7 separate regions of the Homo sapiens genome follow, and regions 2, 3, 4, 5, 6 and 7 are each linked to region 1. The links are contacts of gene promoters, found by promoter capture Hi-C in blood cells and fetal thymus (Javierre and others, 2016). All regions are on one chromosome and are shown on one strand. Each heading gives the region's core, a stretch centred on a gene start or on the middle of the fragment in contact. The rest is flanking DNA. Distances are from core to core; before and after follow the strand shown. Region 1 holds the start of CHRM3 (cholinergic receptor muscarinic 3). Region 2 overlaps CHRM3 (cholinergic receptor muscarinic 3). Region 3 overlaps CHRM3 (cholinergic receptor muscarinic 3). Region 4 overlaps CHRM3 (cholinergic receptor muscarinic 3). Region 5 overlaps CHRM3 (cholinergic receptor muscarinic 3). Region 6 overlaps CHRM3 (cholinergic receptor muscarinic 3). Region 7 overlaps CHRM3 (cholinergic receptor muscarinic 3).

Region 1 (3,933 bases), core at 425-2,924:
ACTGGCGGGGATCGAGGGGACATATCCTTGCAGCCTTTGGACAGGTTCCAGTAACACTTGCAGACAAATGAAGGTTTGCATTCTTGAAACCTATCCATATGGATGCAGTTCCCAAATCCCTGCTGCCTCTACCACTTCCAAATGCGTGCAAGGAGAGTCGGACACACGCACAAGCATGCAGAACAGGATCTCAATTCCAGCACGCACACCGCGAAGTAGACAAGTGAATTCTGCTGCTGGAGTCAACTGTCCGCCCGCCCCCGCCGTTTAAAAACACGCAAAAATTAACCTCGCTATTAGGAGGCTATGCTGAGGAAGTGTTCCAAAGAGGAGAACCGGTGCAGTCCAGCGGCCGCTGCCTCGCGAGTGCAGACTCTCCCCGGGTCAGTAAAGATGCGCACTAGGCTAGGTACCTTCGCCCAAGTGTTACTCGAAGTGCCAAATTTGCCTTCTCGCCCCCTGAAATGCAATCCGAACTTGCGGCCCCACTGCGAGGTTGGCGGGTGCCAGCTTTAGCCTTCTTAGAAATGACAGGAAACCAAATGGGGAGATGGGAGACAAACGCTCAACACACGAGTGCGCTCACAAACACACCCGGAGCCCAGTAGCTCCTCATGCTCGGGCACTTTGGAGCCTCAGATCCGGCAGTGGCGAAGAGAGAATCGAAGCGAGGGAGAGCGGGGTGGGACGTCCCCGACTCTCTCCCGGCCACCGCTCGCATGATTCCCGTCCCTTTCGGGGCACTTGAGTGCCAGCGGGCGTTCCCCACCCTCAGTCCCAGAACTCCAACTCCGCACCAGATCGCGCTGTCGGAATTCAAGTGCCCCCATCTTCCCCAAATCAACAGCCTCTCTCGTCCCTACCCAGCCCCTTCTTTGGACTCCAAACACAAGACCTCTCCTACCCGCGCCGAAAACTTTTTCCTCCTTTCGCAACGAGATAAGGCAAGAAACCAGGTCAGCCGCTACCGCCACCCGCTCTGCCCAGCGCCTGGGTGGCGGGCGCCGTCCCTACCTGGCAGCTGCGCTCCAGGTGGCTGTCCCACGCCGGTCTCCGCGCCTGCCCGGTGCGCGGGTGGCGTCCGCTCCACCTTCCCTTCGTCTCCTCCGGCTCCGCGTTCAGGGAGCGACTGTCCTTAAGATCGTGCCCCCCTGCCCGGAGCCGCCCTTCAGTTCATCGCCCGTCTTCCCAGAAGCGCTGCTGCGGCCCCGGCGGACTGATGAGGAGCCTGGAGATCCGCGATGGCACCGATGGCCCCGCGGTGTGCGCTCCGGGGTCTGAGAGCGCTCCGCCCGCGGGCAGCTGCGGCCGCGCGTCACATGCCGCCTCCGGGCAGCGGCCGCGGCACCTGCCCAAGCGGCAGCGCTCCCGGCTCGGCAGTGCCGCCCCCGCGCCCTGTGCTCCCCTGCACGCTCCGGCCCTTTCTGTTCACGCCCTTTTCCCTCTGTCTCCCGCCTCACTTTTTCTCTTCTTTCCGTCTCCTTCTTTATCGTGTATTCCCTTTCTCCAAAAGCAGAGAGAAGGCGCTCCAAGGGGGAGGAGAGGTCTTTTCCTCCCCACGAACTCTTCCTCTGCCTGGTGGTGGCGGTCGTGGCTACTGCTGGCCGCTCCTCCTCTCCTTCCTCCTCGCGTTCCTCCTGCTCCTCCTCCTCCCCGGACTGAGAGAGCTGGTGTAATGCACAGGCTGCGTGCTTGAGACCAAAACCTGCCCGGCTTCTGAGCATGCCCAGTTGCCCTGCCGGCGCCTAGCTCCATTCCCGCGTGCCCGCTGGGCTCCGCGTTCTCCGCCTGGCAGGGGGCGAGGAGATCCCAGGGTACTCCTGGGGTGGGTTGGCTGAAAGCGGAACACCAAGCAGGAGAGAGGGGGGCCTCACCCACCCAGCATGGCCTCACCTGTTCCCAAATTGTGCCTCCCGCGGCGCTTCAAAGATAGATTTTGCCGGTCTGTTAGTTTTGTTGTGTTCGCTTTTAAATTGGTTTCCCTGGACTGCTTAGAAGGACTGGAAGGAATTCGATTCCTTGGGCACAACTTATCGATGAGTGAACTTCAGCTCAGTTACAATATACGACTCCATGGCAAACCTTTCTCTAAGGAACAGTCTGATGCATCTACTTTTTGACATTTAGTGAGTCTGTTTCTGCAGAGCAGTGTAATAGAGGACGACTTGACTTTTCCCTCCCTGGACAGTTACACCTTGGGAGAAAATAAGACAAGCATCCATGAAGAAGACACTGACGTGCACGCGCGCGCGCGCGCGCGTACACACACACACACACACACACACACACACACACACACACACACTTTTTTAAATCAGAAAATAAAATGAAAGATATAACATTGCTAGCCAGTCTTTTAAAGCTCAAGAGGAATGAAAATCTAAGAAAGAAAGAAAGAAAGAAAGAAAGAAAGAAAGAAAGAAAGAGAGAGAGACAGAAAAGGTTATTATGTACTACTGCCAGCTAACTATGTAAGGAAAAAGTGGAGAGATACCAAATTTGAAAAGATACCAATGAGGCTGTCCCACGGCACTCTCGAGGTTTTGTTTAAAAAGCACATAAGGAAAGATAACAGAGGAATCTCACAAGAAAGGACAAGCATAACAATGATAACTGAAAAAGAAGAAAAGAAAGAAAAAGGAAGGAAGGAGGAAGATAAAAAGAAGAAAAAAGCAAGAAATTGAAGCATAGTATGAAATGAAATATTTAACAATATTAAAGGCAGCAAATGATTTTAATTCTATTTGGAACAAGAAGATAAATAGGAAAAGATAGAGCTCTTTGAAAAATTAAGTAATTCTAAGAGATTAGAGAAACACCAGTATATGAATTCCTTTCTGAACCTATATTCTTCTCTAGGTAGAACAATCTTTAGGAGAGAAGAGACTAAACTTTGCGTAGAAAAGATTGAGATCATGCTGGGAAAATAGCTAGTGAGAAAGCATGTGGCTACTTAAATTAATTAAAATATCTAGGCTTAGGTAAATTGCATCCAGGATACTAGAATAGTAATAATAATAACAATATTGTAGCCTTTTTATTGGGATACCTCTCAGAAGAAAATATAACAGTTACTTTCAGATACTTCTTTAATCTTTAAAACAATCAAATGAGTATTTTATCCTTGTGTACTAAAGGAGAAAGGAATTTAAAGGAATAATTTAATTGTCCATTATATAGCTAGTAAGAGGAACATGAATTCGGATTTAATATCTTTCCCATTACATAGAATTGTTATTTGCCTGTGGAAACAGGAGTAGCTTTGATAATATTGATCCATAAAGAACAGGCAAGGACCAAAAGAATGGACAAGTAGTGATTATGTAGTTTTCAGAGAAAGACAAAAGTTATTAATTTTTAATGAAAATATTCTGGTATGTATACAATGGTTAAGTTTGAGACTGGCCTCTGGCAATGTTCTGGAGAAGATACTGAAATAAATCATTTGTGACTAGTGAGAAAAGAAAAGGAAGCAACTACAATTTAGTAAAATAAATCATACCAGATTAAATTCATTTCCACTTGTAAATAGTCACTAAACTCATAATACAGTATTTCCTGATTTCAGCTAACCTTCCCATTATCATTATGGACAAGGTAAATGTAGATGGCATGTTTGTATCAAACAAATTACAGTTTAGACAGAGTTGCCTCCAGTTTCTTGGTAAGTGGATTCATGCTGGGCTTGAATAAGGTATTGGTCCTGACCTTGGTGCCCGATCATTCAGCAGATTTATCAAATTATATTTCAGAGGAAAATATAAATGGGATACTTAATAGATCTGAGAATGAACCAAACTGGAGGCAATGCTTATTTACAAGATGCCAAAAATCAGAAACCAAAGAGTATTTACCTTTGGATTTTCATCTAAAATGAAGGAAATCAGCTAGAACTGGAAAATACTTAGAAATCCTGCATTTTAGGTTTGTTTA
Region 2 (3,933 bases), core at 491-2,990, 490 kb before region 1:
TTTTCAGATTGAAAGAAAGACACCTGACAGATTTATGGATGTTTTAATAAACACAGGCAAGGCAAAGTTGGCTTCTGAGCTAACACATGGATATAAATACCAGACTGATAAAACCTGGAAAGCACAGGCCGTTCTAATGATCCGCAGAGGCTGCTTTGGCTGTGCTGTTTCAGGTGGTGCTTCGCAGGGTGGGCCAGCAGCAGCAGAATCTCCTGGGAGCCTCACAGAAATGCACAAGCTGGGTGCGTTGGCTCACACCCGTAATCCCAGCACTTTGGGAAACTGGGGTGAGAGGACTGTTTGAGCCCAGGAGTTTGAGGCTGCAGTGAACTATGATCAGGCCATTGCACTCCAGCCTGGGCAACACAGTGAGACCCTGTCTTAAGAAAAAAATGGAAATGCACATTCTTGGGCCCCATCCTAGACCTGCTGACTTGGAAATTCTGGGGGTGATACCCAGCAATCAGTGCTTAGACCAGTTCTCCAGGCAATCCTGAGGCAAACTTAAATTTGAAAACCCCTGACGTAAAGGAGTTTGGATTCATTCTCTCTGTTGTACCTCTGCACTTGCCACTGTAGACCTGTAAAGTCCTGTCTTACCCTCCATGGCCACCTGGTCAACCCCAGCGAGATGCTGCTGGAGCCCTTCCTCCTCAGGCTGAATTAGGGGTGTCCCATCTAGGCAGTTACAGAGTGACCAGCATGTACCCTCACGTGGCAATGAGTAAACTGACCTGTATTTTAACTATCTGATTCTCACCTCCCTTAACACCTGTAATCATCTGAGGGCAGAAGCCTGGTCTTAATCATCCCCTTTGCCCTCATGTCCGACAAGCTACCTGGCCCAGAGTCAGTGCATGGATATATAGGGCATATATATGGTATATATGGTGAGGGAGAAAGAAGAGAGATTTCATTAAAAAAAAAAAATTTAAAATACTGAGAAGATAGTCATTACTGTATATAGCCGGGATCTCCAAGATGCAGGCCACAGACATGTACCAGTCTGTGGCCTGTTAGGAACTGGGCCACACACTAGGAGATGAGTATGGGCCAGCAAGCGAAGCCTCATCGGTATTTACAGCTGCTCCCCATTACTCTCATGACTGCCTGAGCTCTGCCTCTTGTCAGATCAGCAGCAGCATTGGATTTTCATAGGAGCACAAACCCTATTGTGAACTGCATTTGCGAAGGATCTAGCTTGTGTGCTCCTTATAAGAATCTAATGCCTAATGATCTGTCACTGTCTTGCATCACCCCCAGATGGGACCATCTAGTGGCAGGAAAATAAGCCCAGGGCTCCCACTGCTTCTACATTATGGTGAATTGTATAATTATTTCATTATATATTATAATGTAATAATAATAGAAATAAACACTTTGGGAGGCCGAAGCGGGTGGATTACAAGGTCAGGAGATCGAGACCATCCTGGCTAACATGGTGAAACCCTGTCTCTACTAAAAATACAAAAAATTAGCCGGGTGTGGTGGCACGCACCTGTAGTCCCAGCTACTCGGGAGGCTGAGGCAGGAGAATGGCATGAACCTGGGAGGCAGAGCTTGCAGTGAGCTGAGATCGCACCACTGCACTCCAGCCTGGGCGATAGAGCGAGACTCTGTCTCATTAAAAAAAAAAAAAAAGAAAGAAATAAAGTGCACAATAAATGTAATGCACTTGAATCATCCAGAAACCACCCCCTCCTCTCCTCCCCATCACAGAAAAATTGTCGTCCACAAAACTGGTCCCTGGTGCCAAAAGGGGACTGCTGGATATGGCATTATCTGTAGAAAGAAAAAAAAAATCTGAATATTTCCCCTCATGAGAAGAAGCATGAAGCAGCCCATTGACACCTGGGTTTGAATTCTTTCACAGAGCTGTACGGCCTTAAGAAATTCAATTCACCTTTCTTAGCCTCAGTCTCTGCATCTATAAAATGGAGATATTACTTTCTGCAGCAGTTTTGAAAGTTATAAATAATATATAGCAGTATCTGGCATGTAACAGGTGTTAACTAAAAGGAAACTGACATTATTATTCACCAGTTAGGGTTTATTCACCACGTAGTTGAAAGCCATTCATTTTATTCTCTCCTTTCTTTTTTTTTTTATTTTTATAGAAATGGGGTCTTGCTATGTTGACCAGGCAGGCCTTGAACTTCTGGCCTCAAGTGATCCACCTGCCTCAGCCTCCCTATTAGCTGGGACTACAGGCATGTGCCACTGCCATTTTATGCTTTTAAAAAATAAAACTGTGGCTCCCCTGAAGCCCCTAACTTCCTATAGAATTTTAAAGAAAAATGCCTTGATATTTCAAAATAAAAAAACTTTCAATTAGTTTCCAAAGGGATGATTCACTAGAATTTAAATTACCTATGAGTACCTTTTATAGATTAAAATTGCAAGCAAACAGGATGACTCTGTGTGTGTATGTCTGGGTTTCAGAAAAAGAGAGAGATGGGGCATTTTTAACCTAAATTTGCTTATTTTCTGTAAGTCTTTTCTAACTCAGAGATTTTTCCAGACATTTTGCACTTGCTGTCTCTGTTGAAGATACCAACTATGATTCATAGAAGGTGAAAACAAAATGACATTTATGTCTTTTCCTGAGAGTTGTTCAATAAGTAGATGACTTCTTGCAAATGTGCCTGCTTTGATGAAACCCCAAGCTAAGCAAATAAGAGTAAGGGTCATGAAGTGAGTGCTGAGTAAACACTAGGGAACTGATTGTCAGCCTAACCCAAAGAGAGAGACATATATATAGCATACCCCAAAGGCCGAGTAACCTCAATTGGCTTCCTACTTTCTGCTGTTTATTCCTGCCCTTCTGAGGCATGTGATTGACCAGAACAGGACAGATGGCATCCTCTGTCCCAGGAATGCATATCTGGGACTGAACGGCAGTCAGTGCATCCCATGGTGGAGGCTGGTCTCATGCACAGTGGAGATGTATATCTATGAATGTCATCTTCCACTCACCATTTATATAGAGACATAGAGAGAGTTGGTTTGCAGAGGAAACTGAGGCACAGCTGAAGACACAGAACTGCTAGGATCCTAATGGCTTTCCACGTTCCAGTTAGGGCCTTCCATAAGCCTGGCTCTCTTCTTGCCCTCGGATTGCCTGAGATACCTCGCTATCATGTCACCAATCCGCCCTTTTGCTTACACTACCTCCAGCTGGTTTCCAAAACTGATATAAGCCATAGCAATGTTGTGTTAACAATAAATGCATACCAATAATTTAATATTCAGAAACAAGATCAATATGAAGGGAGTGGACTATGTCTGTGTATAATTAATTGTTCAGTTATATAAGAAGATGTCTTAAAATGAAGCTGGCTATTCAAATAATTCCTATAGAATGGGCTAATACTACTAAGATCTGAACGAGAGATTAAACTGGACCAACGAGCTGAACATATTTGCCACTTTCGGGTTTTGAATGAGAAACAAAAGTGAGTTCTTTAGCACGTCACCAGTGGGAAAGGTATGGCAATCAGCTTTTTTGATGCTCTCACCTCCACAATTCAAGGATTGAGGTGTAGTCTATTATAAGGGATGCTATTTCCTTCTCCTACAACATTTCATAAAACTACCTTTAAGGGGGGAAGCTGGAGTGGCAATAAGTGCTCTGATCTGGGAATGGGGGAGCAATTCAATGTAAATTGCTGCCTTTTAATTCATTTGATATTGCCTTGGAAGAAATGATAGGAGAGACCACAGGAAACATTATGCAGAAAAACAATAACTCTCACTTAATTTTGACCAGTTGCTACTCATTACCCCAACATGCTAAATCGAACACCAGTATTGAAGACCAACAATGTGGGGCAAAATGAATGCAAAGCGACCATGGCTACATGATACTGTCTTGAGATACGTAAATCGTTGTCAATACAAGACCCAGTTCAGTTAGGTCTCCATTGTGACATG
Region 3 (3,933 bases), core at 858-3,357, 470 kb before region 1:
TGTGATTATTAGACTAATATTTCTCTTTTCCTTTATAAGCTTCATAGCTTGTTTTTGCACAACATCAAATCCCTAGGGTCTAACAGGATGCCTGGCTCAGAGAATACACTCAATAGAATATAATTGAATGTTAATAATAGAGGTTACTGATAGAAAGAAAAACAAGTCTCTAATTTTGAGTCCTAGTTCCTCCTGCTAAGTGACTTGTAAGGTATTGGAGATTACATTTCTTTGGTCTTTAATTTTTTTACCCTCTAAATACAAATAATAAGAATAGTCCTCAAAGTTATTGTAAGAAAAAAATAGATATAATGACTACAACTGATAGGGATTAAAGGGTATTTAAAATGCTTCAGATTTTTTGATGAACTAAACTACTGGTATATTTGGCACTAAGAATTTCAGCTACACAGACTGATTTATCAATTCTACCCTATCACTTGCTACAGGTTGAGCATCCCTAATCTGAAATGCTCCAAAATCTGACATTTTTGGAGTGTTGACATGACACGACACCACAAGGGGAAAATTTGACACATAAGTACTTAACACAAACTCTGCCTCATGCAGAAAATTATTTAAAACACTGCATGAAATTACATTCAGGCTATGTGTATAAGGTGTGTCTGCAACATAAATTTCATGTGTACACTTGGGTCACACCCCTAAGATATCTCCTGATGTATGTGCAAATGTTCCAAAATCCTAAAAAGTCTGAAACCTGAAACTCTTCTGGTCCCAGGCATTTCAGGGAAAAGATACTCAGCCTGTACATGTATATTTAGAAATAATTAATAGATAAGCATATCTATAATAATTTTAATTTTAAAATGCATGTATGCTTTTATACCATGTTTGCTGTTAAATGCAGAAATGTGGGTATTCATACATTTAGTAATAATGTTTTTGTATAGTACTTTTATAGCTTACAGTGAATTTTCATAAAGATTATTATGGTTTCATTTTATAAATGCAATATCAGACTTGTTTATGTAATTAAGTGAATTGCCTAAGGTCACAGACCTAGTAAATGAAGAGCTGACATTGGAATAGAGATGCTCTGATTTGAGTTTAGTGTTCAGCTCCAACTCCCTGAGAAATTCTAATCATCTGCCAATTTTTTAGGCTGCTTTCTTTTCTGTGTGGCTGCATACAATTTAGAGAATGGGTGCTTCCTTTCAACCAGCCGACTGTCGGGTTCTCTGGGCTACACACTGCAGTCTGCATTGTTGGAGGCTTGGTTTCAGAGTATTCCTGAAGGTCTTTTAGAGTTCACCTGGGGACATGCTTGTTCTCTTTGGTTTACTGTTTGCAAAGTACTGGTCCACATGCTTTACGTATAATAATACTATACTTATTTTGAGATTAAATGACTATATATATATATATATATATATATATATATAAAACACTTAGAACTTATATATAATTTAGAACAATGCCTGATATACGGCATGCACTACATAAATACAACTTATTTTTCAATAAATCTTTATTTAAAAAACAGTATGGCTGGGAGTGGTGGCTCACGCCTGTAATCCTAGCAATTTGGGAGGCTGAGGCAGGCGGATCACTTGAGGTCAGGAGTTTGAAACCAGCTTGGCCATCATGGTGAAACCCCATCTCTACTAAAAATACTAAAAATTAGCTGAGCATCGTAGTGCATGCCTGTAATCCCAGCTACCTGGGAGGCTGAGGCTTGAACCCGGGAGGCGGAGTTTGCAGTGAGCAGAAATTGTGCCACTGCACTCCAGCCTGGGCAACAGAGTGAGACTCCACCTCAAAAAAAAAAACAAAAAAAAAAAACAACAACAACAACAACAAAAAAAACAGGCCAACAAATCCATAAAAAGATGCTCAACTTCATTTGTTATTAGGAAAATGGAAGTCAAAAACCACAGTGAGATACCACTTTATGGCCAACAGGTTGGCCAAAATAAAAACCAAATAGAAACAAACAAAAAAGAACATAACAAGTATTAGTGAGGATGTGAAAAAACAAACTCTCATACACCGCTGGGAGAATGTAAAATGTTACAGCCATCTTAGAAAACAGTCCATAAATTATTTTAATGGTTAAACGTAGAATTACCACATGACCCAGTAATTCCATTACTAGGTATATGCCCAGAAGAAATGAAAACATATGTCTACCTGAAACTTGTACATAAATGTTCATAGCAGCCTTATTTATAATGGCCAAAAGGTGGAAGCAACTCAAATTTCCATCAACTGATGAATGGATAAAAATGTGGTATTTGCATCCAATGGATGATTAGGCAGCCATAAAATGGAACACGTGGTACAAGGTGGATGGATCTCAAAAACGTTCTGCTAAGCAAAAGAAGCTAGACACCAATGGTCACATACTATACAATTCTATTTATATAAAATATCCACTATATGCAAATCCATAGACACAGAAAACAGACTGGTAGCTGCTGGGGGAGGGGCTCTAGGAACAAATGGGGAGTCACTGCTTAATGGATGCAGGGCTTCCTCTAGGGTGATGAGAATGCTGTGAAACTAGAAAGAGATGACAGGTACCAACACTGAATGAATTAAATGCCACTGAATTGTGTACACTTTAAAATGATTCGTGACTAATTTTACGTTATATAAATTCTACCTTAAAAAACCAAACAAACGCAAAAAACCCAAATTGTAAGAGGCAAGTACAATTATTCTCTTTTTTTTTTTTTTTCCAAATGAAAATACTATGGCACATAAAGGTTAAGACACTTGCTTCAGGTTTCACAGGTAGTTAGAGGAAAAACCAAAACAGGAATCTAGATAGTCTGATTTCAGGTAGTCAGACTCCAACTACGATACTTACATTCCTCATGTTATTCTTTTCTGCTGTTCTTTGATTTGATTCAAGTGACAATAAAAGCTAAAACCGAGCTCTAAAGGGGGAAGGGTGGAGAAGGAAAGGGATGACTCAACATATACTTAGAGTGAATGCATTCATGTGTATGATTAAAGAACAATGTCACTTGGTTCTGCAATATTGTGAAATCGCAGCAAGGATGCCAGCGTGGGAGAGCTATTGAAAACTGGTCAATGGATTTAATTGTTGAAGTGTTCTTCCTTTCTAATTAGTGCATCATTAAGTGAATTAAGTGAAGTCATCTTGCTCTTTGGTAACCAATGAGAATTATGATGAGACACAGTAGGAACCACATACACATTTATAGCCATGTTATTAAAGTATGAACTATTTTAATTAATAATATATATCAATAATATATGTCAATTAATTCCCCCTTTTTCTGAGGGATCACATAAGATAATGTTCGGGGCAACTTCAAATAATGTTATAACAGAACATAAGATGTCTAAGATTTCAGACAGGTGGCAATAGTGGCAAAACATGATTAAAGACCTATGGTAATTGCACAAACACTTTGTTGGCTAACAAATTATTTTAACCTTTGTGCATAACTAAACTAGAAAGGCTGGCTTTCATTTATTATGATTATCCACCTCCCTTCCAGGTCTCTTTCTGGACCTAGCTGAGGTGAAACAAAGACACCGAGTGATATATCAAATTACTCTAAGAGAGCCTCTGGCATCGCTAAATAATCAGAATAATTTAACAACCATTTCAACAAAAACAAATGGCACACAGTAGTTCAGTTTCCAGGGATTCGTTTGGAATTATAAGATAAACTTTAAAAAGATGTTTTATTCCTAACTTGATTTTTACTTCACACACACACAAACACAGACACACCTCACACAAAGTGATTATTTCATATTTTTTTCATCCTTCAAAGCAATAAAACTTATCTTTAGGGAACAGATTAATATTTAACTTATTCGTGGTAGTATCATAATAAACTAACTTGGGAAAGGCTCCTTAGTTTTAGATAGTAAATATGAGAGATTCTGGTTCCAAATGGAAGTGTCAAAAATATTTCTATTCTGGCT
Region 4 (3,933 bases), core at 799-3,298, 440 kb before region 1:
TCACAGGGAAAATGTCACCATTAATGGTCTTATTTTCTTGTAAGCAACTTTGGTTTTATTTTTTGACATGGAGTCTCCCTCTATTGCCCAGGCTGGAGTGCAGTGGCACAATATTGGCTCACTGCAACCTCCGCCTCCTGGGTTCAAGCAATTCTCCTGCCTTAGCCTCCCAAGTAGCTGGGACTACAGGCACGCGCCACCACACCTGGCTAGTTTTTTTGTATTTTTAATAGAGACGGGGTTTCACCATATTGTCCAGGCTGGTCTCGAACTCCTGAGCTCGTGATCCGCCCGCCTCGGCCTCCCAAAGTGCTGGGATTACAGGCGTGAGCCACTGTGCCAAGCAGTAAGCAACTCTTATCCATGTGTGTTCCACAGACATTTCATTTCTGAATCCTGAAGGCATCATGTTAAATTTCACATACACCGCTTTAAGTCACACATATTTTGACTGAGGGTGGAGAGGTAAAGAATGTAATATTAATATATTTTCTAGCATTTTGCATGTATTATCTCTTTTAGTCCTAACAGCAACCTCAAGAAGTACATATTTTAATCTTTATTTGACAGATGTATGAATATAAGCTCAGAAAGAATTTCCACAAATACTTAGGCCCACTAAATGAGCAGGGCAGGATGAACTGAGTTCTTTCAGATTTGAAAATCCATGATGTTTTAAAAAGGCATATTTCACAAACAGTCCATCCTAAATGACAGTTCCAAGGCCCAGGTATCATTTTGCTATTAAATTCCTTGAAATAATCGCAGAGATTTCAAATATCAAGTATTTTTCAAATTCTTCAAAAATAGAGGCAGGTACAGTATTTGAGTAGAGACAAAAATAGTAATTATAAGGGGCTCTTATTTGGTGTTTCTATGTGTCAGGCAATGTTCTAAGTGCTTATTGGACATTAAGTCATTTGATTACCCTAGCAATTCTGAGGCTCTGAGGGAAGTACTACTGTTATTCCCATTTTAGAGATAGGGAAATTGAGCACAGAGAGGGTGAGTAATTTTCCCAAGGTCACACAGTAAGTGGCAGAGCTGGGTTTCACATCGAGGCAGTCTGCCTCTGAGACCCTGCTTTAACCACTCTGCTGTGCCATCTGTCCTAGCCTTCCCCAACCTGAAGACCACATGAGTCAAACAATTTTTAGTAAAACTGTTATAAGATGAAACACAAAAGATTGATATATTGAAATTTATCTGAAAATACATGCTTTTTTGGTATAGAAAGTAAAATACAGTAACAGATAGCAGGTGTTTTATAACTAAAGTTGCTGGAATAATCCTTGATCTCAATGGAAACCAAGCCAATCAACATAAAAAATTTAAAATTTCTTTTCTTTTTCAAAAAAAAAAATCATTCAGTCCTTGCAGTCAATTGAACTAATGCCTTCCCAGTCCCAGGGGGCTGTACCAACTGGGAAAATCTTTGACCAAACTGACACCAATACTATAGCTTTTGGTAGGAGAGGCACAGACTTGCAAAGCTAGCGGTTTTTCTTACTTTATAATTGAGGAAACCGAAGCTCAGAAGGGCCAAAATTCCCACTGTTGGAATTAGACTTAGAACTGCCAGTTCTACTCATACCTACAGTTAAACAATCCACTTCGCCACAGAGATTCATTAACTTCACTCTGCTTTAATCACAGAGATGGAAAGAAATTAAAACAAAGCAAAACAATAACAGCAACAACAAAAGCAACGTCAAGGACATTTCAAGAAAGCAAGTGTCTGCACACCTGCTGCAGCAGGTCACATATAGTCACAGATCTAGCCCTCATAGTGTGCATCCCATGCATCAGCAGGTCCCTTTGGCTCTACTTTAAATTTGCCCCAAATCTTAGTCCAAGCCATGACCATTTCCTGAAAGTCTCTGAAGTGATTTCCTTTGTTCATCTTAGATCTCCTCCCATCCGCTATCCGCACAGCAGGCAGAGTGACACTTCCAAAACCTAACTCAGATCACATCATTCCTTAGCACAGGGTCCCTCTGATATCCTCCATTTTCTTAGAGCAAAATCTGCATTGATATTCTAGCTCCCAGGTGCCTTCCCGACCTTCTCTCATACCCCTCTCCCCTTGCCCACTGTTCTCTGTCCGTTCTGCATCTATGCTGTTCCGGGAATACTCCAAATGTGCTCCCACCTCAGGCTTTTGCACCTCCTCGTTTGTCTTCATTGACCTGGTCCCTTCCCAGAGAGCACCCTCACTTCAATCAGTTCTTTGCTTAAATGTTATTATATTAGACTGTCCTTCCCTGAATACGCTATAGAAGCCATCTTATTCATGCTCTACCCTTTGTAATAATTTTTCTTCATGCCAGTTATGGTCCCACAACATTGTGTGTGTATAAGTGTGTGTATATATACACCTGTGTGTGTATCTATGTATGTGTACCTATATAGGTGCATATATATATGTGTATATATCTGTATGTATGTATACACACGTGTATATTTATGTGCATGTGTCTATGTGTGTATTTATGAATGTATCTATGTGTATGTATATCTATGTGTGTGTAACTATGTGTGTCTATGTATGTATGTATGTGTCTATATCTATGTGTGAATATCCGTATGTGTATATATGTGTATCTCTGTGTCACCATGTGTGTATTTGTGTGCGTGTATTTCTTTTTCCTAACAGAAACAGAATCTCAAAGGGAGCAGTAGCTGTGTTTACTTCACCATTGCCTCCCTTGTATCTAGAACGTAGTAGGTGTTTAATAAATATGTGTTGAATGAGGAATGAATAATTTATGATAACAGATATCTGAAACACAAAGTTAAATTGTCTCCTAGGTGTTAGAAAAAAGAATGTAAAGAATTACATGCTGCACTTTATAATGATTTTTTAATTTAAAATACATTAAAGGTATTCTAGTTTTTCACACTTAGACACTGTAAAAATATTTGCAGTTCAATGTGACTTACTGCCTCGAATGAATTAATGAGCAGGGAAGGTTTTATTGTTAGGTGGCAACTATGTTGAATTTTTTTTTGTGGGTTAAATTTGTATTTATAAGATTTTTAAATTATCTGTGCATAGTAAAATATATGATGTTTATTAGGTTTATACAATCACTTAGCAAAAATAATATGAGTAATAGGTAATTTTTAGTGAAACGTGCTATTTCTAGGTACTAGTCTAAACCTTTTACCCACCCTATGTCATTTAATCTTCAAGAAGCCTGTGCAGTAGGTAGGAACTATCATTACCTTCAACATATAAATGAGGAAACAAAGACACACAGAGTTAAAATATCCTAATTGAGGTCACGTAACTAATCAACAGTGGCCAGAATACAAAAAGGCAATTTGTCCATTCTTCTATTCAGTCATCCATTTTTTAATTAAAAAAATGCCTTCTGTGTACTTACAATCTACCAGGAACTGAGTTATGTAACAAGGATGCAAAACAGTGACATAATCTCTACGGTCATGATGATCCCGGCATAGGACAGAGGAGTGGACCAGATGTCAGGCTGCCCAAGAGACCAGCTCCACCTGGGAAGACAGAAACCAGGCAAGGAGTCAGTTCCTTCTCCCACTTTGGATTCCTGTTTTTAATGGTGGAGTCATTAAGCATCATAGAATGATCCAATGTCTCTGTTTTCCCTCCCTAGAGTCTTCAACTGAAGTCATAAAAGAAAGGGACTATTTCAGTAGCAAGTTACCTAAGTGTTAATGTTTGGTTCTGTGGGTGGCCTTGAATTTGTAACTTTGCAGCGTGCCACTCTTGCTTCATTTCATCCAGGTTTTTCTTGACATCTGAAGAGGCAGTATCTCTAGGGAGTATATTTTTGTATTTCTCCATATGTTGCTTTTTGTCTCCTCACATATATTGCCAATAAGACTTGTGAGTTCCACCACAGGCCAGCTCTGCAACTTATGTTTAGTGTTGGCCTGGAAAGAAATATTATT
Region 5 (3,933 bases), core at 579-3,078, 420 kb before region 1:
GGCTTTCTTATCTTTTCATAAGGCCCAAACATCTCAGTGGAAAGGACAAAAGGAGACTTTGGTGAAGCAAATTGGAAAACAACTACAGTAGGCCAGGCATGGTGGCTCACGCCTGTAATCCTGGCACTTTGGGAGGCCGAGGCAAGAGGATAGCTTGAGTCCAGGCTTTCGAGACCAGCCTGGGCAACATAGGGAGACCCTGTCTGTACAAAAAAAATTAAAAATTAGTCAGGTGGTGTGACGTGCACCTGTAGTCCCAGCTACTTGGGTGGCTGAAGTGGGAGGATCACTTGAGCCTGGGAAGTTGAGGCTGTAGTGAGCTGTGATCATGTCACTGCACTCCAGCCTGGGCCACAGAGCTAGACCCCATCTCAAGAAAACAAACAAACAAAAAACAATAAAAAAACAGTAAGTGGACCTCGGACTCATTCCTAGGAAGGGGACACAGTGAGGGAAGATGGAAAGAAAAAAATGAGGAAGTGGGCGAACAGACATTGGGTTCACTGCTGGAATCTTATGGGTTCAGAAGTTGACCTTCTAAGGCCTTTGGATTAAAAATAGACTTCAGAGGCCGGGTGCGGTGGCTCACGCCTGTAATCCCAGCACTTTGGGAGGCCGAGGCGGGCGGATCACGTGGTCAGGAGATCGAGACCATCCTGGCTAACATGGTGAAACCCCTTCTCTACTAAAAATACAAAAAAACTAGCCGGGTGTGGTGGCGGGTGCCTGTAGTCCCAGCTACTCGGGAGGCTGAGGCAGGAGAATGGTGTGAACCCGGGAGGCGGAGCTTGCAGTGAGCCGAGATTGCGCCAATGCACTCCAGCCTGGGTGACAGAGCAAGACTCTGTCTCAAAAAAAAAAAAAAAAAATGGACTTCAGAGTCAAAGACCCAGACTTTGACAGGGTGAGGGAAATATCAACTCACCAACTTCTTCATTTCTTCCTTTTGTAAAAAGTAACATGCAGTGCTTAAGTGGGAACTTGACAAGACTTTACAAGTAGGAAAAAGCAGTATTCTAAATAGGCCTTTTCAATAACTGCTTGTCCACTGCACCAATACAAGCAGTCGTTTCTGATGGGTTTTCTAAGAGAGTGCTGATTTAATTCTCACAAACAGTGTATTTCTAGGAAATGCAAGTATTGGGGCAGTTCTTTGGAGGGCTATCACAGAAAGTACAGGAAAAGCCTGAGATTATGAATAAAATCAGTGGTTCACTCGCATTTCCTTCATGATCCACTTCTAGTTATAGGAAGCGGTAGGGCTTATCACGAAGAATTGGTCCAATCGATATGGCAAAAACTATCGCTAGGCATTTTAGGTGGCAAATAAGAGACTCTCATCTTTATTCCGTTAGATTTGATCTCGTACTACAGCTGGGAAAGATCACTCGCACAGGAGTGAAAACAGTTCACACAGCAGGTAATTAAGGCAGGATGAAGCTGTCCCCTTACCCACAGTGTCATTCTAGGGCAAACTCTGTCTCCCTTTGTTCGTATGTCCAACATGAATCTCCACCTTCTCTGTTGCAGATTAATCCTGTCCATAAAATGACCTAGCATTTTATTGAGTGGTATCAGAGCTGTACTGATTTACTCTGCCTGAAGGTCACATACGAGGATAAACAAAAAAAAGTATTGCAATTCCTTTCTGCACATCTGACTTCAGCTACGACTTGTCACAGGGAGCTGGAGAGCTTTCTCTAGGGCTGTCTTCCTCGAACTCCCATGGAATTTGAACTCCCATCAAAACACTGGGACTTTGGGGCTAGTCAGATATGGGGTCAAAACAACCAGTTTTTCAAAAAATAAAAAGGCAGACGATTACCGATAAAGAATTCCAAGGAATTTTGGAATATGTTTCTTTAAAAAACTTCATGTTTTATATAACTAATGAATATTCATTGCAGAACAGCTTGAAACAGAGGGAAGAAAAGAATAATGAGATAATCATAATGACTTATGATGCAGCCACCAAGCAGCAAATTCTTTTATCACTCTGGAATATCCCAGCATTTTGGGATATGTGTGCGTGTGTGTGTGTATGTGTGTGTGTGTGTGTGTGTGTGTGTGCGCAAAGCAAAAACACTCAATTACATGTACTCTCAGTTTCTTACAGCAAATCTGCTTCTCTTCTATATACTAAAAGGTATAAATGAGATTTTTAATGTGATTAAGTTGATGAGCTAAAATTTAACAGAGCATGTAAAGATCAAAGATGAAGTGAGGAAAGCCAGAAACATTTCACTTAAATATCTGAATGCAATGCATGATTACTAAGCCAAAGAAAAACTATTTATCTGGCCTGAGAATGTTATTTAAATCCCAGGCTCATTCATGCTAAACAGAGGCAACATTTTCCATTCACTTCTCCAAGGCTTCTCTTCTGGTGGAAGTAACCCCTCCTTTCATTCCCCCTGTAGCATTCCTATTTATGGGCTTAATGCCCACAATTGAGAAGGATAAGTTTAGAAGGTGTTCATTGCCAAAATGATGATATTTAAATGGTAGGTCAATTTTAAACAAGGTGACTTTTTCAGGTTGTGCCAATCTGTAAACATTATTCTTGCCATAGTACTATAAATGAAAATCCAATAATAAAAAGGCCAGAAGAAGAATTATTTAGAATGATGTATTAAGGAGTTGGAGCTACTTTTCTTTCTCTAATGAAGTAAAAAGAAACTGCATTTTAAAGTTTAAAAAGTCACATAATCTTCCACCTAAATAGGACTTTTATTTCTTTTATGTTCTTATTGTGTTCACAATCAAAACCTGCAGAAGAAAATATTTGTCAAATCATCACATTTTGCTTTTGGATGCAATCATCTAATACCAACCCCAAATAAAGAAATTATATTAATGGAAATTTTCATTATTATCACCATCAAAACTCATGTGGAGCCAGGAACAAGTAGAATATTCTCTGGCTTGGGTGCAGCCTATGGAATGACGGCAGGTACTACTCTCAAAACAGAATGTACGCTTCTTTGGAATTCTTCTGTGAACAGTTTATTAATTTTACGCCTTGAAAGGTAATGGAAGTACACCTAGTATTGCCAGATACTCTATCTCTTCTTCCAGCATTTCTCCTTATTGGCCAGCATTGCCTATTCTGAACAACTAAAAGAAATTAAAAAGTTAAAATGTACCTCTTTTTTAGAAAGCAGAGATAGCATGCAGGTATGTGTATGTTTTCTACAATATCTACAATATGTGCGTTTCTCAAAGCGAACACAGTAACTTTCGTCTCCAAGAGGAAGCCCTGCCTGTATGGCTCATCCCCACACTCCCAGCCACGTGACTTGCAACTATGCAGGCCTAATGCATCTGGCCTACTAATTCACTTACTGCTCTCCATTTAATTCCTGCAGTCAATCCTATTTTTTCCTAAGCACACCCATCTGCTCCCAATAGATTCAACAATTACAATCTCTGGATGTCCACAGGGGTGTGTGTGTGTGTGTGTGTGTGTGTAACTCCATCCTGGATGTCCACAGGTGTGTGTGTGTTGTGTAACTCCATCCTGGATGTCCACAGGTGTGTGTGTGTGTGTGTTGTGTAACTCCATCCCATTGGATACTGCAGGTCTGCTTAACACCTGGAAGTGCAAGTGGCTTCACAAGCAAATGAGGCCAAAGCAATTTTAAGCAGACAGTCGGGAGACTGGAAGATCAGACATTCTGAGGTTTTTCAGTTGTTGTTCAAAGCTGGGAAAAAGGTGCCACTGAATTAGAGGCTGGCAGCTGAGGGCTAATTACGACATCTCAGAACTTCTCTCAGGGATTTTCAGCCAGGAGTGGAGTCAGGGTTTGAAGTGGACCTATGCCAAAGGTGTCTGAGCCGGCTGGGTTCCCCCACAGACTAGGGAATCAAAAGCTTTCAAAATGCAGAATCAAGCTCCAAGAGAGATTCCTGTTTTGTTTTGTTTCGTTTTTA
Region 6 (3,933 bases), core at 361-2,860, 400 kb before region 1:
TTTTCTTTTTTCTCAAGCTCTCTGAGCTGGCAGAGATTATACTGAGCCCTCTGATTGGTTTGTGATCTCCCAAGGCAAAGCCAGTCTTAGGATGGCAGGGAAAATGTATCCTTGCCTCACACATCAGAAAATAAAACTGATTAGAAAAACAGAAATGCCTGTAGTAACATTTCTACAGCCACTAAAGAGGTAGCCACAATCCTACCAACTCACTCTTCCCAAGTCTCCCTGCTTAGCAGATCCTTTCATGGTATTACTGAAATTGCTCAACATGCCCCTTTTAAAGAAATGTTTACTGGCTGGGCATGGTGGTTCACGCCTGTAGTCCCAGGACTTTGGGAGGCCAAGAAGGTTGGATTGCTTGAAGCCAGGAGTTCGAGACAAGGCTGGCCAACATGGTGAAACCCTGTCTCTACTAAAAATACAAAAATCAGTTGGATGTGGTGGTGCATGCCTGTAATCCCAGCTACTCAGGTGCCTGAGGCAGGAGAATTGCTTGAACCTGGGAGGCAGAGGTTGCAGTGAGCCGAGACTGCATCACAGCACTCCAGCATGGGCAACAGTGAGAGACCCTGTCTCAAAAATAAATGAATAAACAAAAATAAAGAAAAGCTGTGGGACATGCTAGTTTTGTGTGTTTTTTTTTTTTTTTCTCCAGGAGCGACTCCTACAGATATTTTCCTATTTTTTGGTGATATTTTACCAGAAAAAAACAAAAAACAAAATAAAATCTCTCTTGTTTTTCTGTGAATAAATTTTATCATGCTTTTTCATTTTAACAGTACTTTTCACAAACTTATACATGTTTTACATTATGGAGTAGATGAGACTTTATCCTGCCATTGACTCTGATGTCCACAAAGCTATATTTTGAGGCCCAAGCACAGTCCTTGCTCTATCACATTTGTGCTCCAGGAAGTTAATGAGGTTTAGGAACTAATATTCTGTAAAAGAGGTCAGGGAGCTTTTCTTCAAATTTTAGATCTGCTAACAGCTTTGTGATTCTCTGCCTAGGTTTCCACAATTGCCAGGCTAGACAGGGGAAACTGATTGTAGTGGTCTGTTCTTATGTGGCTAATAAAGACATACCCAAGACTGGGTAATTTATAAAGAAAAGAGGTTTAATTGACTCACAGTTCTACATGGCTGGGGAGGCCTCACAATCATGGTGGAAGGTGAGTGAGGAGCAAAGTCATGTCTTACATGGTGGCAGGCAAGAGAGCTTGTGCAGGGGAACTCCCCTTTATAAAACCATCAGATCTCATGAGATTTATTCACTACCATGAAAACAGTTTGGGGGAAACTTCCCCCATGATTAAATTATTTCCACCTGGTCCTACTCTTGACGTGTGGGTATTACTACAATTCAAGGTGAGAATTTGGTGGCGACACAGCCAAACCCTATCATTCTTACCCTGGTCCCTCCCAAATCTCATGTCCTCACATTTTAAAACCAATCATGCCTTTCCAACTGTGCCCCTAAATCTTAGCTCATTTCTGCATTAACCCGAAAGTCCACAGTCCAAAGTCTCATGTGAGACAAGACAAGTTCCTTCTGCCTATGAGCCCGTAAAATCAAAAGCAAGTTAGTTACTTCCTAGATCCAATGGGTACGGGCATTGAGTAAATACACCTAGGGTACAGGTATTGAGTAAATACACGGGTTACAAATGGTAGAAATTCGCCAAACGGGGGCTACAGGCCCCATGCAAGTCTGAAATCCAGTGGGGTAGTCAAATCTTAAAGCTCCAAAATGATCTCCTTTCACTCCATGTCTCACATCCAGGTCTCTGATCTTAACTATTCTTCAAAAGACTAATGAGGAATCTGCAAAACTGAGCTAACTCCACACTTATCCAGTGTGGCTGGGAAAGCGGTTGCTAAAGTTTGGATGTTTGTCTTTCCAACCCTCATGTTGAAATTTGATCCCCAGTGTTGGAGGTGGGGCCTAATGGGAGGTGGTTGGGTCATAGGGGTGGACCCCTCATGAATACATTATTGCCCTACCTGAAGTTGGGGATGGTGAGTAAGTTCGCTCTTAGTTCCTGAGGGAGCTGGTTGCTAACAGGAGCCTGGCACCTCCCCACTCTCTCTCTTGCTTCCTCTCTTTCCATGTGATCTCTGCACATGCCAGCTCCCCTTCACCTTCCTCCATGAGTGGAAGCAGCCTGAGGCCCTCATCAGAAGCAGATGTTGGTGCCACACTTCTTGTATAGCCTGCAGAACTGTGAGCCAAATATGCCTTTCTTCTTTATACATTACCCAGTCTCAGGCACGCCTTTATAGCAATGCAAAATGCACTGAGACAGTGGTGTTCTGCTTAATGATGGTAGAAGTATATTCCTGTTTCATATTGCTTATTTATTGTTCAGAGACTGCTTAATCTTCGCCAAATTAATTTTTCTTCCTCCAGAGTATACAACTAGATGACATTTTCCAGTCTCCTTTGTAATTAGGCATAATTTGAGCACTGGCCAGTGAGACATGACAGACGTAATATGCATCACTTCAAACCTGGTCTAGTACCCTCCAATGACCACATCTCACATGCTCTTTTCTCTTCTGAATGGGTGCAACGAAGACACCTTTAGTGTGACCTTGGAGACCACATTTGAACATGGTGAAGCCAAAGGATGGAATGGTCCTCAAATCACTCAGAGAAAAGACGCCTGACCAGGAAGACCCCAAGTGGACTCTTACACAAGCGAAATATAAGATAATGCTGTTTTAATCCACTGGGATTTTAGAGTTTGTAAGTTATATAATAGTTAGAATTACTATAACTAATACACATTAAATATCCTTTCAAAGAATTAAAATGGCATAAAATATACTTTACAATTGAATGAAAATTTCATTTTTTGTAGATTTAAAGTATATTACAGTCTTTCGCTCAGGGTTATCACTTGTTTGTTTTGTTTGTTTATTTTGTTTTTGAGACAGATTCTCACTCTGTCGCCCAGGCTGGAGTGCAGTGGTGCCATCTCAGCTCACTGCAACCTCTGCCTCCCAGGTTCAAGCAATTCTCCTACCTCAGCCTCCCGAGTAGCTAGGATTACAGGTGTCTACCACCACGCCTGGCTAATTTTTGCATTTTTAGTAGAGATGGGGTTTCACCATGTTGCTCAGTCTGGTCTGGAACTCCCGACCTCAAGGAATCCACCTGCCTCAGCCTCTCAAAGTGCTGGGATTACAAGTGTCAGCCACTGTGCCTGGCCTCAGGGTTATCATTTGAAACATGAATTGCCTTTAAAGGACTGTTAACGTAGGCCTTAGAAGACACTGGAAGGAAACCTGGCTATCATATGAAATGGTATGAAAATCTAAATACAACATGCAAAAAAAATCTAATTGCTGAAGGTTGGTGGTTGTCTGCTTTCTCAATATTAAAATATTTGCTCTACATGAGATTCAGGGGAAGAAAAACAAAACTATTTTTTCGTTTTGTCTTGTGGTATTATTTTGAGTTGGGGGGTCTCACTCTACCAGGCAGGCTGGAGTGCAGTAGTGTGATCATGACTCACTAGAGCCTCAAACTCCTGGGCTCAAGTGATCCTCCCTCTTCAGACTCCCAAGTAGCTAGTACTACAGATGCATGCCACCATGCCCAAATAATTAAAAAAAAATTGTTGTAGAGAGGAATCTCTTTATGTTGCCCAGGCTAGTCTTTTCCGAGCCTCAAACAATCCTCCTGCCTTGGCCTCCCAAAGTGCTGAGACTACAGGTGTGAGCCACTGCACTTGGCCTGCTTAACCATTTAACCTTAGAATTACAGTGAAATAACAATTACAGTGAAATAACAACTGTAAGAATTACAGTGTACTTTAAATATATATGTAATCTTTTTACATTTAATTCCCAAATATGAATTGAGATAAATAAAATTAACTTTACATATTAGAAAATTGCAGGCAAGCTATGTTAAGACACTTG
Region 7 (3,933 bases), core at 726-3,225, 390 kb before region 1:
CATTGAAAGACTAATTGGCTTTCATGACTAAGCAAGCACAGGAACTCCTATTGTTCTGAGTACCCACCCCATCCCTCTCTAAATAAGCACATTGGCTAGGTATTCCTACTACGACTATTAAAATACATTAAAAGTACCCAATTTATATCTAACTCACCCAGCCACAGCTGTAAAAAGAGCAGTGACACCAGTGGAATGGAATAGAGACCGAAACTCAAGGACAAAGATGAATCAAGCAAGTTCAATCCCTGCATACAGACCAATTAGGAAGAGTCCTGGTATTACTGGCATGTTGATCACGGGACACATAAATGCTAGGATTTAGGTTAGGTTACCTTGGTTTAGTCCTCCCAATAAACCCATGAGACACGTGGTATTTTCTCATATATTACAGACAGAACAAAAAGTCCAGAGAATCTAAGTAATTATCTCAGGTAGTACCTATAGCTGGTCAACAGCAGAACACAGTAGAATCTTCCTGTCTAACTATTTCTCTAGTATCTCTAAATCTAATTACCTGCCAATCTGATAATGGCTAAGGAGTATTGGAGCAGGTAGTCTTTCCTCACCAAAGATTCATTCTCCTTCCTTCTTCCATTCTAACGAAACCCCTATGCATTGAGGTAACATGCAGATTCCTTTAATTACAGGAGTTATTCTCATCCTCCCAAGTCTAGGGATTGAAGCATGATTGATTACAACTAGCCATCTTCATCTTATTTCCCTTGACTAGTGATTGATAGCTAAAGGGCCAAGTGTGAGGGGCCAATGGAAGGTAGGACTGCTAGTGAGGACTTCCTTTTCAGAATTATAAGACAAAGAAAAGAAAGTCTTTTGCTCCTTTACTTTCATTCCTGCCTGGAATGTGGCTGTGATTTCTGGTAGTGCAGTAGACACCTTGCAACTGTTATACAAAGCAATGAGAATGGGAATGAAACCCAACATAGTAAGAAATAGCAAAAGTAAAGATGGAAAGAGGCTGTTCTCTTAATGCCAGGGTTAAGTAGTTAATTCAATAGCAGCAACTACCTTCTTCCAGACCTCTTCATATTTGAGATAAGTAAACAGTTACTTAAGTCATTAATAATAGGGTATTTTATTAATTGCAGCTGATAAATATAGCTATAAAGTCAACTTAGACTAGAATGTGCTATTCGATGAACAATGTAAAAAGCTTTGGTTTGTGTTGGTTACTTAGAAGATGCTGAGAATACCTACAACCTTTCGGTGGTACAGCAGACCCAAGTATGCACTCCCCTCTTACAGATCATTAGTGAGTAACCCTTTCCTAGATCAGGACATTTAAAAATTGTTGACATATGAGTGTATGTTGTAGACTTTCCCAAACATTTTAAATTTCAGTGTCAAAATCTCCCTATCATATCACTAAGAATCTCAAAACATCTCAAAAAAGTCTTCCTCTGTATAGATTGAATGAGTGTTTACCAGGTGCTAGGCTCTGTGCTGAGTGTGGGGATTCAGAAATGACAAAACAACATCCTTGCTTGAAGACACTTAGTCTGACAGTGGAGATGAAAAATAGAAACACGTATGCATTAAAATAAAATGTTGGAAGCAACTTCTGCCTTTAGGGGACAGGAAAGACATGAGAGAGGAGGGATATCTGGCTGCGGCAGTGAGGTATGGGTAAGAGCTTGTTGGAAGGAAAAGCAGGGCAAAAGCTATTCAGAGAAACAAGGGGTAATTGTATAGAGAGGGAGTCACAGAAAGGCATCATGTACAGTGGGGTAGGAGAATTTGCAAAAAAGGACTGGAAGATAGGAAATGAGACCAGAGCAGACTGTAAACTGCTGTAAATGCTCTGACAAACTGCTTAGAGCTTAGCCTGTAGACAACGTAGAACAATAGAAGGCCTTTAAACAGCAGAGAATAGGGTCGGATCTGGGGAGATGATTCATTACTTCAACGTTTTTCTGTAAGATAACTATAATACACAATCATGTAAAAATTTAAATAACAAGGAAGTATAGGCTGGGCATGGTGGCTCATGCCTGTAATCCCAGCACTTTGGAAGGCCGAGGTGGCCGGATCACCTGAGGTCAGGAGTTCGAGACCAGCCTGGGCAACATGGTGAAACCTCATCTCTACGAAAATACAAAAAATTATCCGGTTGTGGCGGTGCATGCCTGTGATCCTAGCTACTCGGGAGGCTGAGGCAAGAGAATCGCTTGAACCCGGGAGGCAGAGGTTACAATGAGCTGAGATTGCGCCATTGCACTTCAGCCCGGGTGACAGAGTGAACCTCCGTCTCAAAGAAAAAAAAAGAAAAGTATATACATAGAAATGGAAAGTTTCTTTCTTTGTCTTCATACCCACCCCTCTCAGGGGAAGATGCTAATAACAATTGTTGTATATTCCTCTGGACTTTTCAATTTTACGCACACTGTATCACCTATTTTATCTTTCTTTTGTTTCTCTTTGTATGTCTCTATCTCCTCTCTGTCTCTGTATCTATCTTTTTAACCAAGATAGAACCACAAAGAAATAGAGGATATTTTTGTAGTTTACTGTTTGACCTAAGAATATACTGTGGATATCCTTTCCTGTCCACACATACAGATTGACCACACTGCTTTTCATATCTGCATATTTATCTAAAACAGGGCTTTGAAACCTATGGGCCTGTAGGCCAAATGTGGCATGCTGTCTGGAAGACAGCCACACCCATTTGTGTGTGTATTATCTCTGGCTGCTTTCTTGATATAAGGGCAAAGTTGAGTAATTATGACAGAGGCTGCATGGCCCTCAAAGCTTGATATATTATAATACTATCTGCCCCTATACAGAAAATGTTTGCCGACCCTTGGTCTACATTATGTACACACTAGAATGAATTTCATCATTTCTGCCTTGACGTCCACTTAGGTCACACAGTTATTTTGTCACAAATAAGGCTGCAACGAATAACCTGATACATCTTTGTGCTCAGAAGCGAGTGTTTCTGTAGGAGAGTTTGCTAGAAGTGGAGGTGCTGTATGAACAGATTTCCATTCTTTTTTCTTTTTTGGCGGGAATCCAGGTGGCAGTGTGGAGAGGAGTCTGGAGCAAGGAGTCTCAGGGAATGAGATCAATTAGGAGGCTATTCCAATAATCCAGGGCAGAGAGGAGGCAAGCCCAAAGGTGCAAACGGAAGGAGGCTAGAACTGAAGAGATATTTGCGAGGAATTATTGAGAATGATAATTGGATGAAATGAAGAAGGGAGAGGGCGGCTAACATGCTTCTGAGATTAAAAGTTTGGGTAACTTATTCACTGAAAATAAAAAATCAGCATCATCTGAAATGTGAAACTAATAAAGGATGTTTTACTTGAATGTCACCTTTTTTTTTTTTTGAGATGGAGTCTGGCTGTGTTGCCCAGGCTGGAGTGCAGTAGGATGATCTTGGCTCACTGCAACCTCTGCCTCCCAGGTTAAAGCAATTCCCCTGCCTCAGCCTCCATAGTAGCTGGGATTACAGGCACCCACCACCAGGCCCAGCTAATTTTTGTATTTTTAGTAGAAACAGGGTTTTACCATTTTTGATCAGGCTGGTCTCAAACTCCTGACCTCAAGTGATCTGCTCGTTTCAGGCTCCCAAAGTGCTGAGATTACAGGTGTGAGCCTGTATCTTAAGACAAATTGATATAAAACTCACTTGGGTACTTTCATTTTGAGATAAGCAGGCATGATTATGAACAAAGGCTTGTGGTTCCTTATATCACCAATGATAATTATTTTAAGTCTAATAGTTCCCTCTGCAGCTGTCATCACTCAGGTCCCTCTACTTTCTTGGGCATGGAAAACCTTTCCTGGTCATTCAAGCAGTCATCTTCCGCTCAGTCCTTTCCTTCATTCCCCATAACTGCAGACTACGTGGCTAAGGCAAAGATCCTTGAACCCTTAAAATCGTGATTATTGAAATTTTTATCCAGG

What was found. The method cuts DNA at HindIII sites, captures the fragments that hold promoters and counts their contacts. A CHiCAGO score of 5 or more calls a contact.
Region 2: a contact is called between a fragment that was not itself captured here and the fragment with the promoter of CHRM3 in region 1, in 11 of 17 cell types (total CD4 T cells, non-activated CD4 T cells, total CD8 T cells and 8 more). The highest score is 17.8, in total CD4 T cells.
Region 3: a fragment that was not itself captured here is called in contact with the fragment with the promoter of CHRM3 in region 1 in 8 of 17 cell types (activated CD4 T cells, naive CD4 T cells, naive CD8 T cells and 5 more); the score reaches 10.6 in activated CD4 T cells.
Region 4: a fragment that was not itself captured here is called in contact with the fragment with the promoter of CHRM3 in region 1 in 6 of 17 cell types (naive CD4 T cells, naive CD8 T cells, activated CD4 T cells and 3 more); the score reaches 7.9 in naive CD4 T cells.
Region 5: a contact is called between a fragment that was not itself captured here and the fragment with the promoter of CHRM3 in region 1, in 6 of 17 cell types (naive CD4 T cells, naive CD8 T cells, total CD4 T cells and 3 more). The highest score is 10.2, in naive CD4 T cells.
Region 6: a contact is called between a fragment that was not itself captured here and the fragment with the promoter of CHRM3 in region 1, in 5 of 17 cell types (total CD4 T cells, activated CD4 T cells, naive CD4 T cells and 2 more). The highest score is 7.9, in total CD4 T cells.
Region 7: a fragment that was not itself captured here is called in contact with the fragment with the promoter of CHRM3 in region 1 in 1 of 17 cell types (naive CD4 T cells); the score reaches 6.6 in naive CD4 T cells.

What each region holds. Positions count from the first base shown.
Region 1 is chr1:239,384,309-239,388,241 of GRCh38, reverse strand. CHRM3 (cholinergic receptor muscarinic 3) reads right to left here and starts at 1,674. Exons shown (of 7, transcript NM_001375978.1): 1 at 1,015-1,674. RefSeq lists enhancers at 1-451, 452-952. The HindIII fragment of the contact is 9,736 bases long and covers 1-3,933 here.
Region 2 is chr1:239,875,599-239,879,531 of GRCh38, reverse strand. All of the region lies in intron 6 of CHRM3 (cholinergic receptor muscarinic 3), which reads right to left. Among named protein-coding and RNA genes, the nearest start is that of CHRM3-AS1, 22 kb to the left of the region's middle. The HindIII fragment of the contact is 5,293 bases long and covers 1-3,933 here.
Region 3 is chr1:239,857,293-239,861,225 of GRCh38, reverse strand. All of the region lies in intron 6 of CHRM3 (cholinergic receptor muscarinic 3), which reads right to left. Among named protein-coding and RNA genes, the nearest start is that of CHRM3-AS1, 41 kb to the left of the region's middle. The HindIII fragment of the contact is 4,131 bases long and covers 42-3,933 here.
Region 4 is chr1:239,826,835-239,830,767 of GRCh38, reverse strand. It overlaps CHRM3 (cholinergic receptor muscarinic 3), which reads right to left. Exons shown (of 7, transcript NM_001375978.1): 6 at 3,390-3,516. Among named protein-coding and RNA genes, the nearest start is that of CHRM3-AS1, 71 kb to the left of the region's middle. The HindIII fragment of the contact is 9,020 bases long and covers 1-3,933 here.
Region 5 is chr1:239,805,956-239,809,888 of GRCh38, reverse strand. All of the region lies in intron 5 of CHRM3 (cholinergic receptor muscarinic 3), which reads right to left. Among named protein-coding and RNA genes, the nearest start is that of CHRM3-AS2, 89 kb to the right of the region's middle. RefSeq lists an enhancer at 1-82. The HindIII fragment of the contact is 4,094 bases long and covers 1-3,875 here.
Region 6 is chr1:239,787,769-239,791,701 of GRCh38, reverse strand. All of the region lies in intron 5 of CHRM3 (cholinergic receptor muscarinic 3), which reads right to left. Among named protein-coding and RNA genes, the nearest start is that of CHRM3-AS2, 71 kb to the right of the region's middle. The HindIII fragment of the contact is 5,345 bases long and covers 1-3,933 here.
Region 7 is chr1:239,770,508-239,774,440 of GRCh38, reverse strand. All of the region lies in intron 5 of CHRM3 (cholinergic receptor muscarinic 3), which reads right to left. Among named protein-coding and RNA genes, the nearest start is that of CHRM3-AS2, 53 kb to the right of the region's middle. The HindIII fragment of the contact is 1,598 bases long and covers 1,177-2,774 here.